3 separate regions of the Homo sapiens genome follow, and all the other regions are linked to region 2. The links are contacts of gene promoters, found by promoter capture Hi-C in human tissues and cell types (Jung and others, 2019). All regions are on one chromosome and are shown on one strand. The core of a region is centred on a gene start or on the middle of the fragment in contact, and the rest is flanking DNA. Distances in the headings are between cores, read along the strand shown.

Region 1 (4,230 bases), core at 1,390-3,889, 1.4 Mb after region 2:
CCAGGCTGTGCTGTGTAAGCTATTAGTATGGCAACAGGATCAGATATGGAGCTGTCTTCAGGGACCTAAAGGGAGCCCTTTAGGCTAGTGAGGACAGGGCTATAATCCCTCCTGGTTTCTTTTGTTTGTTTTTGGTTTTTTGTTTTTTAAATGGAATCTCACTCTGTTGCCCAGGCTGGAGTGCAGTGGTGCGATCTCAGCTCACTGCGTCCTCCACCTCCCGGGTTCAAGCCATTCTCCTGCTGGGATTACAGGTGTGTGCCACCACGCCCAGCTAATTTTTTGTATTTTTAGTAGAGATGAGGTTTCACCGTGTTAGCCAGGCTGGTCTCGATCTCCTGACCTCGTGATCTGCCTGCCTTGGCCTCCCAAAGTGCTGGGATTACAGGCGTGAGCCAAAAAAACCCACCATCTTTGAGATGGAGTCTCGCTGTGTCCCCCAGGTTGGAGTACAGTGGCGTGATCTTGGCTCACTGCAACCTCCGCCTCCCAGGTTCAAGCGATTGTCCTGCCTCAGCCTCTCGAGTAGCTGGGACTATAGGCACGTGCCACCACGCCTGGCTAATTTTTTTATTTTTAGTAGACACGGGCTTTCACCATCTTAGCCAGGCTGGTCTTGAACTCCTGACCTCATGATCCGCCCACCTTGGCCTCCCAAAGTGCTGGGATTACAGTGAGCCACCGCGCCTGGCCCAATTTTTTGTATTTTTAGTACAGACGGGGTTTCACTATGTTGGCCAGGCTGTTCTCAAGCTCTTGACCTCAGGTGATCCACCTGCCTCGGCCTCCCAAAATGCTGGGATTACAGGTATGAGCCATGGTGCCCAACCCCGCCCCCCTTAGGTTTTAATGAGAGTCCTGGGTGGTCTTTGAAGGCCTAGGTGGATGCTGGTGTCAGGATCCTGAACCCAAGTCCCTGATTTCATAAAAAGCATCCGGAATCCTGCTTTCCTGCCACTGTTATCCCACAGGGGACAGGGCAGGAGTTGGCAGCTCAGGGCTGGTGAGAAGTCCAGAGGGCTAGCCAGGCACTCTGGCCATGCTCTTCCTAGGTGGCCTGAGAGTCCATATACTGAGCCAAGATGGCGGCCTTCCAGTTGCAGGAGTGTTAGGCCAGCCCAGATTGGCAAGCTGGGTTCTCCAGGCCCTGGGCCAGTATTCTGGACTGGGACTCAGTGGACTTTGAAGAGGTAGAATTCCCTAAGTCGGCCTCTCTCCTTGATAATTTACCCAGAATGGCCCAGATGACAATCTGGGTACAAAATATTTCAGTCCATTTCATCATGTTTACCAAGTACCAGGAGTCAATAGAATTTATGAGTGATAACTAAAGGGTAAGGCACTTTACATCTTAATCCTCTCAGCCACCTTGTAAAGCAGGTATTATCTCCATTTTTAAGTCGTGGAAACTGAGGTCCAGGGAGGCACAAGATCACATGACTAAGGGAGTGGGGAAAGCCAGGATTGGAGATTGGGTTAATAGGGCTCCAAAATGCCTGATCTTTCCACTCCCCTGAGTGCTCAGGGGTGATGAAGATGACTAAGACCCTGTTCCTTCCCTTGGGAGGGAGCGAAATACCCACTCCAGCTAACTATTGCATGGGTCAGGGTGACATCACCACCTCTGCAGCAGATGGAGGCTGATTCATCTGTGGGAGAGTCAGGAGGGGCCTCTGCGGAAGGGTCGGCTGGCTGGAAGGGTTGGCTGGCTGGAAGGGTCGGTTGGCTGGCGGGGGTTTTGAAGACGGCAAAGATAGAGAATGAGCCTTGGGGAGGTTCCAGGGCCAGATACAAACTGCCTGTATGCCTCCCAGGCAGGGGCCTCCTTGGCCTAGGTCCTTCCCATAGGAACTCAAACCACCACCACACTAACCATGGCTGAGGGGACCCGGCAGGCCGCAGTGGGGAGGGACGAGATCCCTGAGCTTACACAGGGGCTGAGGGGAGCTCAGTGAATCACCTAGGGGACACCTGGACCAAAGGTGGCGGAGGGGCGCATGGGTCTCCCTGCCAAGCTATGGGGGAGGGGATGGTGGACATGACAACTTCCAGCTCAGCGGTGCTTTAGGGTGGGGAGCCGGGATGAGGGAAGCTGGTGGCTATCCGGGGGGGGGTGCTCTGAGGTCTGCAGGGGAACTGCCTCCCCAAAGTTTCAAGCTAGGGGTGGAAGGGGGGATTTGCGGTCATTAGGAGCGGGAAGGAGGCCGGATGGGAGCACGAGGTGTCCCGCCTCCAAAGGGTGGAGGGCTCCCGGTGGGTGGCGCGGCGGCGGCCGCGGCGGTGAAGTCATCGTGGGGAGTGGTCCGCTTGCGGCGGGTGCGGGGGCTTCGCGGGCACCCAGTGGAGCAGCGGGAGCCCGGCGCCGTCGAGGGGCGGGCGATGGGGCGCCGGCCCGTCTTGGTAGGGGTGGGCTCCGCACTGGAGGCGGAGCTGCTGCTGGGTGGGGCGCGCCTCCGGCGCGGACGGAGGCGGCGGGACGCCCGCTCCCACGACCGGCCCACAATGAGGCGAGCGGGCAGCGCGGAGTAGGCGGCGGCCGGCCGGGCCGGGCCACGCGGCGGCGCTGCTCGGGCAGGTTAGGGCAGGGCCGCGGGGCGCCCGAGCGAGGACACCGCGGCCCCGCCTCCGCCCCTCCCCTCGCCTGCCGGTCGGCGCCCGAGCTCGGAGCCGCAGCCGCAGCCGGAAACCGGGCCCGCGCGGCGGCCGCCGTCCCGGCCAAGCCGGGGCCCCGAAGCCAGAGCCGGAGCCGGGCGGGCCGCGGGGTCATGGCTGGGCCGCGGGGCGCGCTGCTGGCCTGGTGCCGCCGCCAGTGCGAGGGCTACCGCGGCGTGGAGATCCGCGACCTGAGCAGCTCCTTCCGGGACGGCCTGGCCTTCTGCGCCATCCTGCACCGGCACCGGCCCGACCTGCTGTGAGTGCGGGGCCCCGGGCGAGCGGGCGGCGCGGGGCGGGCTGGGGCCGCGACCGCCGCCCCCCCTCAGTAACACGAAGCCCGGGCGGTGACAGGCGCCGCCCCCGGACACGGAGACGCCGACCCCCCCGACGGCCCCGGACGCCGGGCGGGTCCCTGAGACCCCGGCCCAGGGCGCCCCTCCCCCGCCCGGCCGCCCTGACCCCGCCCGTGGGATCCCGAACTCTCCCCCGAGGCTGGTCCCTCCGCGGGGACACTGGCCCCGCCCACAAAGCGCTGATTTCCGCCGAGGATCGCTGAACCCCTAAGCCCTTGACCTCTTTGAAGGGGTGTTGAGCCCTCTTTGGGGGCCCTGGGCCTCTCCTACCCTAAACTCTTCTCCACGGGCTCGCCGGGCCTCCCCTCTCCCCCGAGGCTTCCCACTCGGGGTGGCCCCTTGCTCCGGGTGTGCAGGTGAACCCCCACTTCTCTGACCCCCAAATAGGAGCTTGTCTCCGGACAGTAGCACAGTTCCCGGCACAGAGGAGACCTCGGCTAACAGGTGTTGGATGAATGGATGTACAGACCCTGTGCTTTCCCCACGCCCCCCAACTTAGGACGCAGCCCTGCCTCCCGGGTGTGTGCTCGATGGCCCTGCAGCCCTCCTCAGTGGGGCACGCAGGTGGGGCGCGCAAGAGGAGTCACAGGCCGGCAATGTTGGGAAGACTCCTAGGATCCGATTGATAGACACCAACCGGGTGCTGCAGGTTGTGAAATGGCCCCTTCCTGCCCAGAGCTGCCCAATGAGGTTCTCATGGGAAAATGCATTCAGACTCCCCGGAACAGTTGACTTGGAGCCTCTGTCTTTGCTCTCTCTGCCTTGAGCCCTGGAACCTCTCCTCCTTTCGTCCCTTCATTCCTAAAACACTGGGTGAGTTTATCTGGTGCCATTCCTTGCACTTCAGGTCTCACCTGTGAATCAGGGAGGAGAGTTCTGGTCCCTACCCCTTTCGCATGCAGCCCTCTTGCCAGGGCTCCCCCAGCCTGGCAGATGGAGGCTTTCTGTGCCTGTTCCACCTCCAGATTTGCACTGTCCGAGGGCAGCATGTGGGAAGGCTTCTAAGGGATTGCCTCAGGATTCCATGATGCAGGTGCACCTGGTTTACCTGTATGTACCCTGCAGTACCGTGTCTGTGGGTGGTGGCTTGGGCCCTGGAGGAGAGGGTTTTGGGGCTGTGGATACAGAAGGGAACAAGATGAGGTGGTCATGTAGGTGGGCCCCTGCCCGCTGTGGGGCATGTGACACCCATACTAATGGAAGCACAAGGTTGATGCCTGGT
Region 2 (4,127 bases), core at 498-2,997:
GTGCTGTTGCTATCTTGGAGATGGAGGGGGCCATGTGACAAGGAATGCAGGTGGCCTCTAGGAGCCAAGAGAGGCTCCCAGCTGACAACTGGCAGGGGGATGGGGGCCTCAGTCATCTAACTGCAGGGAAATGAACTTTACCCACAATAAGAATGGGCTTGGAAGTGGCTTTTCTTTCAGAACCTCCAGATGAGAACTCAGTTCTATTTCTATTGACACCATGATTTCTGCCTTGTTTGGATTTGTGGCCCCACCCAAACTGCATGTCAAATTGTAAACTCCAATGTTGGAGGAGGAGCATGGTGGGAGGTGACTGGATCATGGGGGCAGACTTCCCCCTTTGGCACTATTCTTGTGGTAAGAGTATTCAAGAGATCTGGTTGTTTAAAAGTGTATACCAACCTCCCCCCTCTCTTTCTCCTGCTCTGGCCATGATGTGCCTGCTTCTCCTTTGCTTTCTGCCACCATTGCAAGTTTCCTGAGGTCTCCTCAGCCACGCTTCCTCTAGAGCCTGCAGAACTGTGAGCCAATTAAACCTCTTTTCTTTATAAATCACCCACTCTCAGGCATTTCTTTACAGCAGTGTGACAATGGACTAATACAAGGACCAAGCACACAGCACTGGACTTCTAACCTACAAAACCGTGAGCTAATAAATTGGTATTGTTAGGCCGGGTGCTGTGGCTCACGCCTGTAATCCCAGCACTTTGGGAGGCCGAGGCAGGCAGATCACCTGAGGCCGGGACTTCAAGACCAGTCTGACCAACATGGAGAAACCCCATCTCTACTAAAAATACAAAATTAGCTGGGTGTGGTGGTGCATGCCTATAATCCTAGCTACTCGGGAGGCTGAGGCAGGAGAATCGCTTGAGCCCGGGAGGTAGAGGTTGCAGTGAGCCGAGATCGCACCGTTGCACTCCAGCCTGGGCAACAAGAGCGAAACTCCGTTTCAGAAAAATAAAATAAAAAATAAAAGTAAAATACATAAATCGGTATTAAGTCATTAAGTTTCTGTTAATTTGTTATGGTGCGAAAGAAAACTAATACAAAGTTATATAATACAGAAGTATGTATGGCGAAGAGAGCTGTCCAGGTGACTCCACTGGGATCAAAAAGGAGGGGAGCCAGCAAAGACGACATGCAAACGGAACAGGGAAACGGGTGAGACCAGAGTAACGCGGTAACACAGACGGCAAAACGACACAGGCACGACGGCCCTGAATGCTTTGGGGAGCTCACCAGGAAAAATCCAAGAAAAGGCCGCTGGCCCCAGAGCGGCAAACCTTCCAGTGTGCTCTTTCAACAGGTGATGTGGGCGGGGGGGCGGATTGGGAGGGGTGGGGTGGAAATAGAGGAGGAAAAGTGAAGGAAGCATGTTTCTTTCAAGGTGCCTCTGAAGAGTCAATTCTGAGCCAGATCTTAGAATCCATGAGTTAAAGAAATGAGGAATTGCAAAAAATGTGTGAAAAGATTGAAGGCAGTGGCTCAGTCAATGAAAGAAGAGGTCAAAAAGAAGAGCGGCCAGACTTACAGGAAAACTGCCAACCCAGATAATAAGGAGAGGAAAAAATCAGATGCTCAGGGAGCAGAAGTCAACAGGAGGCCACAATGGAACAGAGATGAAGAAAGTACTGGAAGAAGGGAGTTAACTGGTTCCTGCGTAAAAAATAAGCAGAAAAGTTCTTAACACTTAACATAGTTCTACACACACAGTCATGCTCTTTCTCAGCAAGGAACTAAGCAGAGGAAAAAACTCACAAGACAAAAAAAAACATCCAGGTAGCTCTATAAGTAACGAAAGGGGATAAGAAACAGTTTATACAACCTAGCCTGCGTAAACAGGCACTGTAGGGAATAGAGACATGGTGTCACCAGGAGGGTGATGGAGATGGCGGCTCACCCTGGAATCCCACTCATTGAGTGTCTTGATGTTGATGAAGGACACTTCCCCGTTGGCTCCAGTCATGACGCCATCGTGCTCACAACGGACAATAAGGTCAATATCATCTCCAAGCTTCCACCTGCGGTAACTGCAGCAAAAAAGAAACTCATGTGGTCACTGGGGATTCTATAGAGTGGGGCCCGTGCTCCAGTCTGGCCACAATACCCACCAGAGAGGTGACCTACCGGTACGCAACAGAGGCGATTTCATTCTTATCCATGTCGTCCTCCACAAACGGGTTTGGGTTGGGGAAGTTGTATCTTTCCTTCCCCTGCAAAAACAAAGGTGTCACAAGACAGAGCTAACTTTGTTGACAAGGCCAAGGCCAATCAGTCAGACCCAGCACCTCTGCTTAGTTGCAGCCCTGGCCAGGTTCCTGGGGCCCTTGATGGGGCTCTGAGCTCGCTGCCTGTTTTGTGCCTACTTGACCCCTCCCAACTGTTAGCACCTGATGAATTAGAACAATGACTTAGTAACCATGCTCATCTCTACTTCATTTTTTTGCCATGGCATATATTCACCATTTGATGTAAATCAATTTATTATTTATTGTTCACTGTGTTTCCTCCTCCACTATCATTAAATTCTGTAAGGGCAGGAACTTTGTTCAAAGTCAGAGAGCCTAACATCCAAGCCCAGGCATGTAACTCCCCTGCTAAAGGTGGGGACTGCGTCTGACCTGCTCAGTCCCACAACCAAGAGCCTAGCACAAAGCAGATGCTCCACAAACAGCAGCTGATTAAATAAGAATGAATCAATGCCCAGAGACTCGTTTCCTCACCATTCTCAAGCACTGCTGGGAGAAATTGTGGTTGATGTAGGTTGCCTCCATGGCCAGGTTGCGGGGTGAATTGAAGGAATTACCTTCATCTTGAGGGGGCTCATTGGCAGTCTCACTCACTGTCAGGAGGTCTGCAAAAGCGTGGCATGGTCACTCACCATGCAACAAAGAGTCACTGACAATGTGCGCAGCGCTGTGGGGAGATGTGGAGAGGCAAACAACACAAGTCCTTCCTTCAAAGAACTGCCCTCTCCTAAAGTGGGTCTCCCTGGTGTGGAACACATAAGCGGGGGAGTGGGGCAGCTGCTCCAGGATAACTCAAGATACTGTCCAACATTCAATTCAATCACACAGTAACGAAGCTGTCCCTTTTCAGTCGTTTTGGATTCCTCAAGAGAATGATTTTGCAAGCTTTTTAATAAAGACCTCAGGCTTCAGGCTCAGAATATAAACACTTTTTTTTTTGAGATGGAGTCTTGCTCTGTCACCCAGGTTGGAGTGCAGTGGTGTGTCCACGGCTCACTGCAACCTCTGCCTCCTGGGTTCAAGCGATTCTCCTGCCTCAGCCTCCTAAGTAGCTGGGATTACATGTGTCCACCACCACACCTGGCTAATTTTTGTATTTTTAGTAGAGACTGGGTTTCACCATGTTGGCCAGGCTTGGTCTCGATCTCCTGATGTCAAGTGATTCTCCGCCTCGGCCTCCCAAAGTGGCAGGATTACAGGTTGTGAGCCACCGTGTCCAGCCTGTTTTGTTAATTTTTGAGTGACATGGTTTTCCTTTATGGTGTATAAATACATATATGTATGGTATAAAAAATATATATGTATATACAGTAAGCAAACACTGAACAAGGTATGCAAGATGGCAAAAGTCGAAAAAGGGGTATTTAAATGAATAACATTTGGGCCAGGTGTGTTGGCTCACACCTCTAATCGCAGCACTTTGGGAGGCCAAGGCTGATGGATCACTTGAGGCCAGGAGTTCGAGACCAGCCTCGCCAACATGGTGAAACCGTCTCTACTAAAAATATAGAAAGTAGCCAGGCGTAATGGCACATGCCTGTAATCCCAGCTATTCGGGAGGCTGAGGCAGAAGAATCACTTGAATGTGGGAGGCAGACGCTGCAGTGAGCCAAGACTGCGCCACTGCACTCCAGCCTGGGTGACAGAGTGAGACTCTCTGTCTCAATTAAAAAAAAAAAAAAACAACAAAAAAGCAACATTTGGAAGCTTGCTATTAGGGTGCTGTGAGGACTCCAAAAGCTGAGGCCTCAAGCAGGTACTGCAGTGACAGTCTCTTCTCCTAACCTCTAAAGAGTGTGGGAGATTCAGACACTGCTGCTGTCAATTCCCTTGGGAAGACAGACCACTTTCTATCCATTCTCTAGTACCAGAGACTTG
Region 3 (4,005 bases), core at 1,019-3,518, 1.1 Mb after region 2:
TTGCTCTCCATTGAAAACCAAAGCACCACCCTTGGCCCACAGAAGCCCCTACCGCTCCCACTGTTTCCTGGACCCCTCACTCTCCTTCCGGGAGGAGGCTGGGAAGCCTCCCCAAGGAGCAGGGATGGATCTGTCCTCAAACCTTCCCTAAATCTGCTCTGTGCCAGGCCCTGAGCTAGCTCCAAGACTTAACCCTACACCCAAAGAGTTCCCAAACAGACAGGCAGAAGCAACCATTAGAATCAAGTGTCTGGCCAGGCACGGTGTCTCATGCCTATAATCCCAGCACTGGGAGCCTGAGGCAGGAGGATCACTTGAGCCCAGGAGTTCTAGACCAGCCTGGACAACATAGTGAGACCCTGTCTCTACAAAAAAAAAAATTTTAATTAACTGGGTGTAGTGGCGTGTGCCTGTAGTCTCAGCAACTAGGAAGGCTGAGGCAGGAGGATCGCTTGAGCCCAGGAGTTGGAGGCTTCAGTGAGCAGTGATCATGCCACTGCACTCCAGCCTGGGTGACGGTGTAAGACCCTGTCTCAAAAACAAAAAAAATCAAGTGTCATTGCACTGGGAGCCCATATTAGCCAAGTTAGGGGTGGCCATATAACCTAGACTCATGGTATGGGGTGGGTGGTTAAGAACGGCTTCCTGGAGAAGGTGATATTTAAGGGAAGTCTTTCAGGAGCTGACCTGAAGGTGAATTTTGTTTATTTTTATTTATTTTATTTATTTTTTATTTTTTGTTTATTTTTTTTTGAGATGGAGTCTCGCTCTGTTGCCCAGGCTGGAGTGCATTGGCACGATCTCAGGTCGCTGCAAGCTCCGCCTCCTGGGTTCAAGCAATTCTCCTGCCTCAGCCTCCCGAGTAGCTGGGACTACAGGCACCCGCCACCACGCCTAGCTAATTTTTTTCTTTTTTTTTTTTTTTTTTTTTGTATTTTTAGTAGAGACGGGGTTTCACCGTAGCCAGGATGGTCTCGATCTCCTGACCTCGTGATCCGCCCACCTCAGCCTCCCAAAGTGCTGGGATTACAGGCGTGAGCCACCGAGCCCGGCCCTGAAGGTGAAATTTTTAAAGGAAAAAGGAACATTCAGGCCAAGGAGACTATCTATGCAAAGGCCAGGAGCAAAAGGCTTAGGGCACTTGGGGAATAGGAGCTAGTTGAGCTTCCAAGGTTGGGTACAAGGTACAGTTTTTCCCAAGTCGTTGGAGCTCCAGTTGCTCCTGGGGGTCACAGCCTTATCTGAAGTTGGCAGACAACTTCAAAACTGTGACACCACAGCTCACAATTCATTCATCCCCACACTGCAGACCAGTGGCTCCTCAAAGGTCCCAAGACCTGTGGTTGCTTCCAGATCACAAGGCCTCCTCCCTAAGACAGGGACCCAGCCAACCTGGGTCACCCCATTACTATTCTGGGCAATTGGCCACGACCATTCTGGATCCTGCCCTCCCGGGGCGTGCTGCAGTGACAGCCTACCAGCCTCTAGCCCAGTGCTTCCCTACCCTATCCTAGCTCACGGTAGAATCCCTGGAATTAAACCAACTAACCAACAAACCAAAAAATGCCCAGTCTTCACCCAAAACACTTACATGAGGATCTGTCCTGCTACACATCGGTGATTTCAAAAGCATTTGTCAAGACATTGAACTGTACATTTAAGATCTATGCATTTTACTATATGTAAATGATATCTGAAAATAAGTTCCCAGGGGACTCTAACGCAGTGTGAAGAACTACTGGTCTAGACCGAGGGCTCCAGCACCCAAGAAGACACCATGTGCCTCGTACCCCATCGTACACACACGTTTCTTGGGACTTCGCTCTGAACTGGAGCGTCCACGATTCAGGGGGCAATGAGATTCGACCCAAAGGCAGTTCATTTAACATCTGTTTTTCTCCCAGCAACCAGCTCGCCTAAGCTTCTGATTGGCTGGAGGGCACGGGGCCTTTCGCTTCGCGTTTTGTTTGTAGATTCTTATTGGTTAAGAAGAGCGTCAGTCTCCCACCGCGTAAGAGTGTAGTCGGCGTTGAAACTCGGCGGCGACTGGTCCAGCAGAACCAGGGACGGGGAGAAGGATCAAGCTAGCTCTTCATTGGTCCCTTCCCCTCGGTGTTGGCCACGAATCCGCCCCTCTCTCCAAGTTCCGTTAGCTCGCGGCTTCGCTCCTCTCCCAGACTCTCGCCCCCATTGGCTGCAGGCCACGCCGTCGCCCCGCCCCCCGGTCCTTCCAGCGCGCCAATTGGCGGCTGCGTGGAACGTGCCAGGGAGAGCGCGCCGTGCCCGCGGAGAGAGCGCGGCGCGGGAGGCCGGCGGCCGGCCGGCTGCATGGCGCGCTGCGAGAGGCTGCGCGGAGCGGCCCTGCGCGACGTGCTGGGCCGGGCGCAGGGGGTCCTGTTCGACTGTGACGGGGTGCTGTGGAACGGCGAGCGCGCCGTGCCGGGCGCCCCGGAGCTGCTGGAGCGGCTGGCGCGGGCCGGCAAGGCGGCTCTGTTTGTGAGCAACAACAGCCGGCGCGCGCGGCCCGAGCTGGCCCTGCGCTTCGCGCGCCTCGGCTTCGGGGGGCTGCGCGCCGAGCAGCTCTTCAGCTCCGCGCTGTGCGCCGCGCGCCTGCTGCGCCAGCGCCTGCCCGGGCCTCCGGACGCGCCGGGCGCCGTGTTCGTGCTGGGCGGCGAGGGGCTGCGCGCCGAGCTGCGCGCCGCGGGGCTGCGCCTGGCCGGGGACCCGAGCGCGGGGGACGGCGCGGCCCCGCGCGTGCGCGCCGTGCTTGTGGGCTACGACGAGCACTTCTCCTTCGCCAAGCTGAGGGAGGCGTGCGCGCACCTGCGCGACCCCGAGTGCCTACTCGTGGCCACCGACCGTGACCCATGGCACCCGCTGAGCGACGGCAGCCGGACCCCTGGTGAGCGCGGGAATGGCGGGGAAACTGAGATGGGGGCGACCTGCGCATTCGCCTCCACGCCTAAGGGTGAGGGGCGGGGAAGAGGCGTCTCCAGGTGGCAGGTGGGGAACAGGAGAGTGCGAGGGAGGCCCAGGGTGCTTTGGTGTGGGGGGCGGTTGATCCCTGTAGCCGTCATCCTGTGAGGCGCAGCAGTGTGGTCCCTGTTGGACAGATGAGGAAACTGAGGCCCTTTGTAACTTAGGGAGTTGGGCGGAATTCTGCCCTACCCACCATCGGGGTGGGGTTGGAGAGGAAGCCTGGGAGGATTGTCCCCCTGTGTGAGGGTTGAAACACCATTCCCAGAGGCAGGGTGTAGGCAGGTGTGTGGGGAGCAAAGGCGGTGGAGTTTGACCTCAGTTCCAGGTCCAGCTCCAGCTTCACAGCTGTGTAATCGTGTTCAGTTACATAACCTCCAAGCATCTCTGCCTGGGTGAGAAATGGCAGTGCTCAGCATGCCCGGTGACGGTGATCAGGGTGAGTGCCTGGCACATAGTAGGTGTTCAGATGATGTAAGTTGTAGCCAGAGTCCCCCATGTTACAGAGAACTTAATGAAACAGCTTTGTGTGTGTTCTTCTTTGGTTTCCAAATTACTCTGGAGATGGAAGTTATTGTCCCATTTCTCAAGTAAAGAGACTGAGGCAGCCGGATGCAGTGGCAACAGCCTGTAGTCCCAGCTACTCGAGAGGCTGAGGCGGGAGGATTGCTTGAGCCTAGGAGGTCAAGGCTGTAGCGTGCTATCATTGCATCTGTGAAAAGCCACTGTACTTCAGCATGGGCAACATAGTGAGACCTTATCTCTAAAAGAAGAGGAAAGAAACTGAGACTAAGAGAAGGGAAGTGAGCTGCCCAAGAACAGATATAGTGAGCCCCTCCACCTCCTGTGTCCCCACACACCTGCCTCCATCCTGCCTCTGGGAATTGGTGTTTCAGCCCTCACAAGTAGGGACAGTCCTCGCAGGCTTCCCCTCCAACCCTCCAACCGCACCCCAATGATGGGTGGGGCAGAATTCTGCCAGCAACTCTCTGGCAGAGTGATAGAGCGCGGGAACCTGAATTTGGCCTT

What was found. Contacts are between HindIII fragments. The study calls those that stand out against the background at their distance.
Region 1: a contact is called between the fragment with the promoter of MICALL1 here and a fragment that was not itself captured in region 2, in 1 of the 25 tissues and cell types used here (dorsolateral prefrontal cortex).
Region 3: the fragment with the promoter of PDXP here is called in contact with a fragment that was not itself captured in region 2 in 1 of the 25 tissues and cell types used here (dorsolateral prefrontal cortex).

The regions. Positions count from the first base shown.
Region 1 is chr22:37,903,658-37,907,887 of GRCh38, forward strand. It overlaps MICALL1 (MICAL like 1), which reads left to right and starts at 2,640. Exons shown (of 16, transcript NM_033386.4): 1 at 2,640-2,911. The coding sequence starts at 2,766. RefSeq lists enhancers at 1,331-2,146, 2,147-2,962, 2,963-3,778, 3,779-4,230 and silencers at 2,253-2,972, 3,083-3,192. The HindIII fragment of the contact is 31,369 bases long and covers 1-4,230 here.
Region 2 is chr22:36,514,578-36,518,704 of GRCh38, forward strand. EIF3D (eukaryotic translation initiation factor 3 subunit D) reads right to left here. Exons shown (of 15, transcript NM_003753.4): 10 at 2,724-2,854; 11 at 2,128-2,213; 12 at 1,901-2,030. Among named protein-coding and RNA genes, the nearest start is that of FOXRED2, 9.6 kb to the left of the region's middle. The HindIII fragment of the contact is 3,595 bases long and covers 1-3,545 here.
Region 3 is chr22:37,656,455-37,660,459 of GRCh38, forward strand. It overlaps PDXP (pyridoxal phosphatase), which reads left to right and starts at 2,269. Exons shown (of 2, transcript NM_020315.5): 1 at 2,269-2,902. The coding sequence starts at 2,329. It overlaps PDXP-DT (PDXP divergent transcript), which reads right to left and starts at 1,923. Exons shown (of 6, transcript NR_109952.1): 1 at 1,801-1,923. RefSeq lists enhancers at 1,826-1,895, 1,906-1,955, 2,144-2,645, 3,472-3,983, 3,984-4,005 and silencers at 2,146-2,455, 2,656-2,765. The HindIII fragment of the contact is 18,911 bases long and covers 1-4,005 here.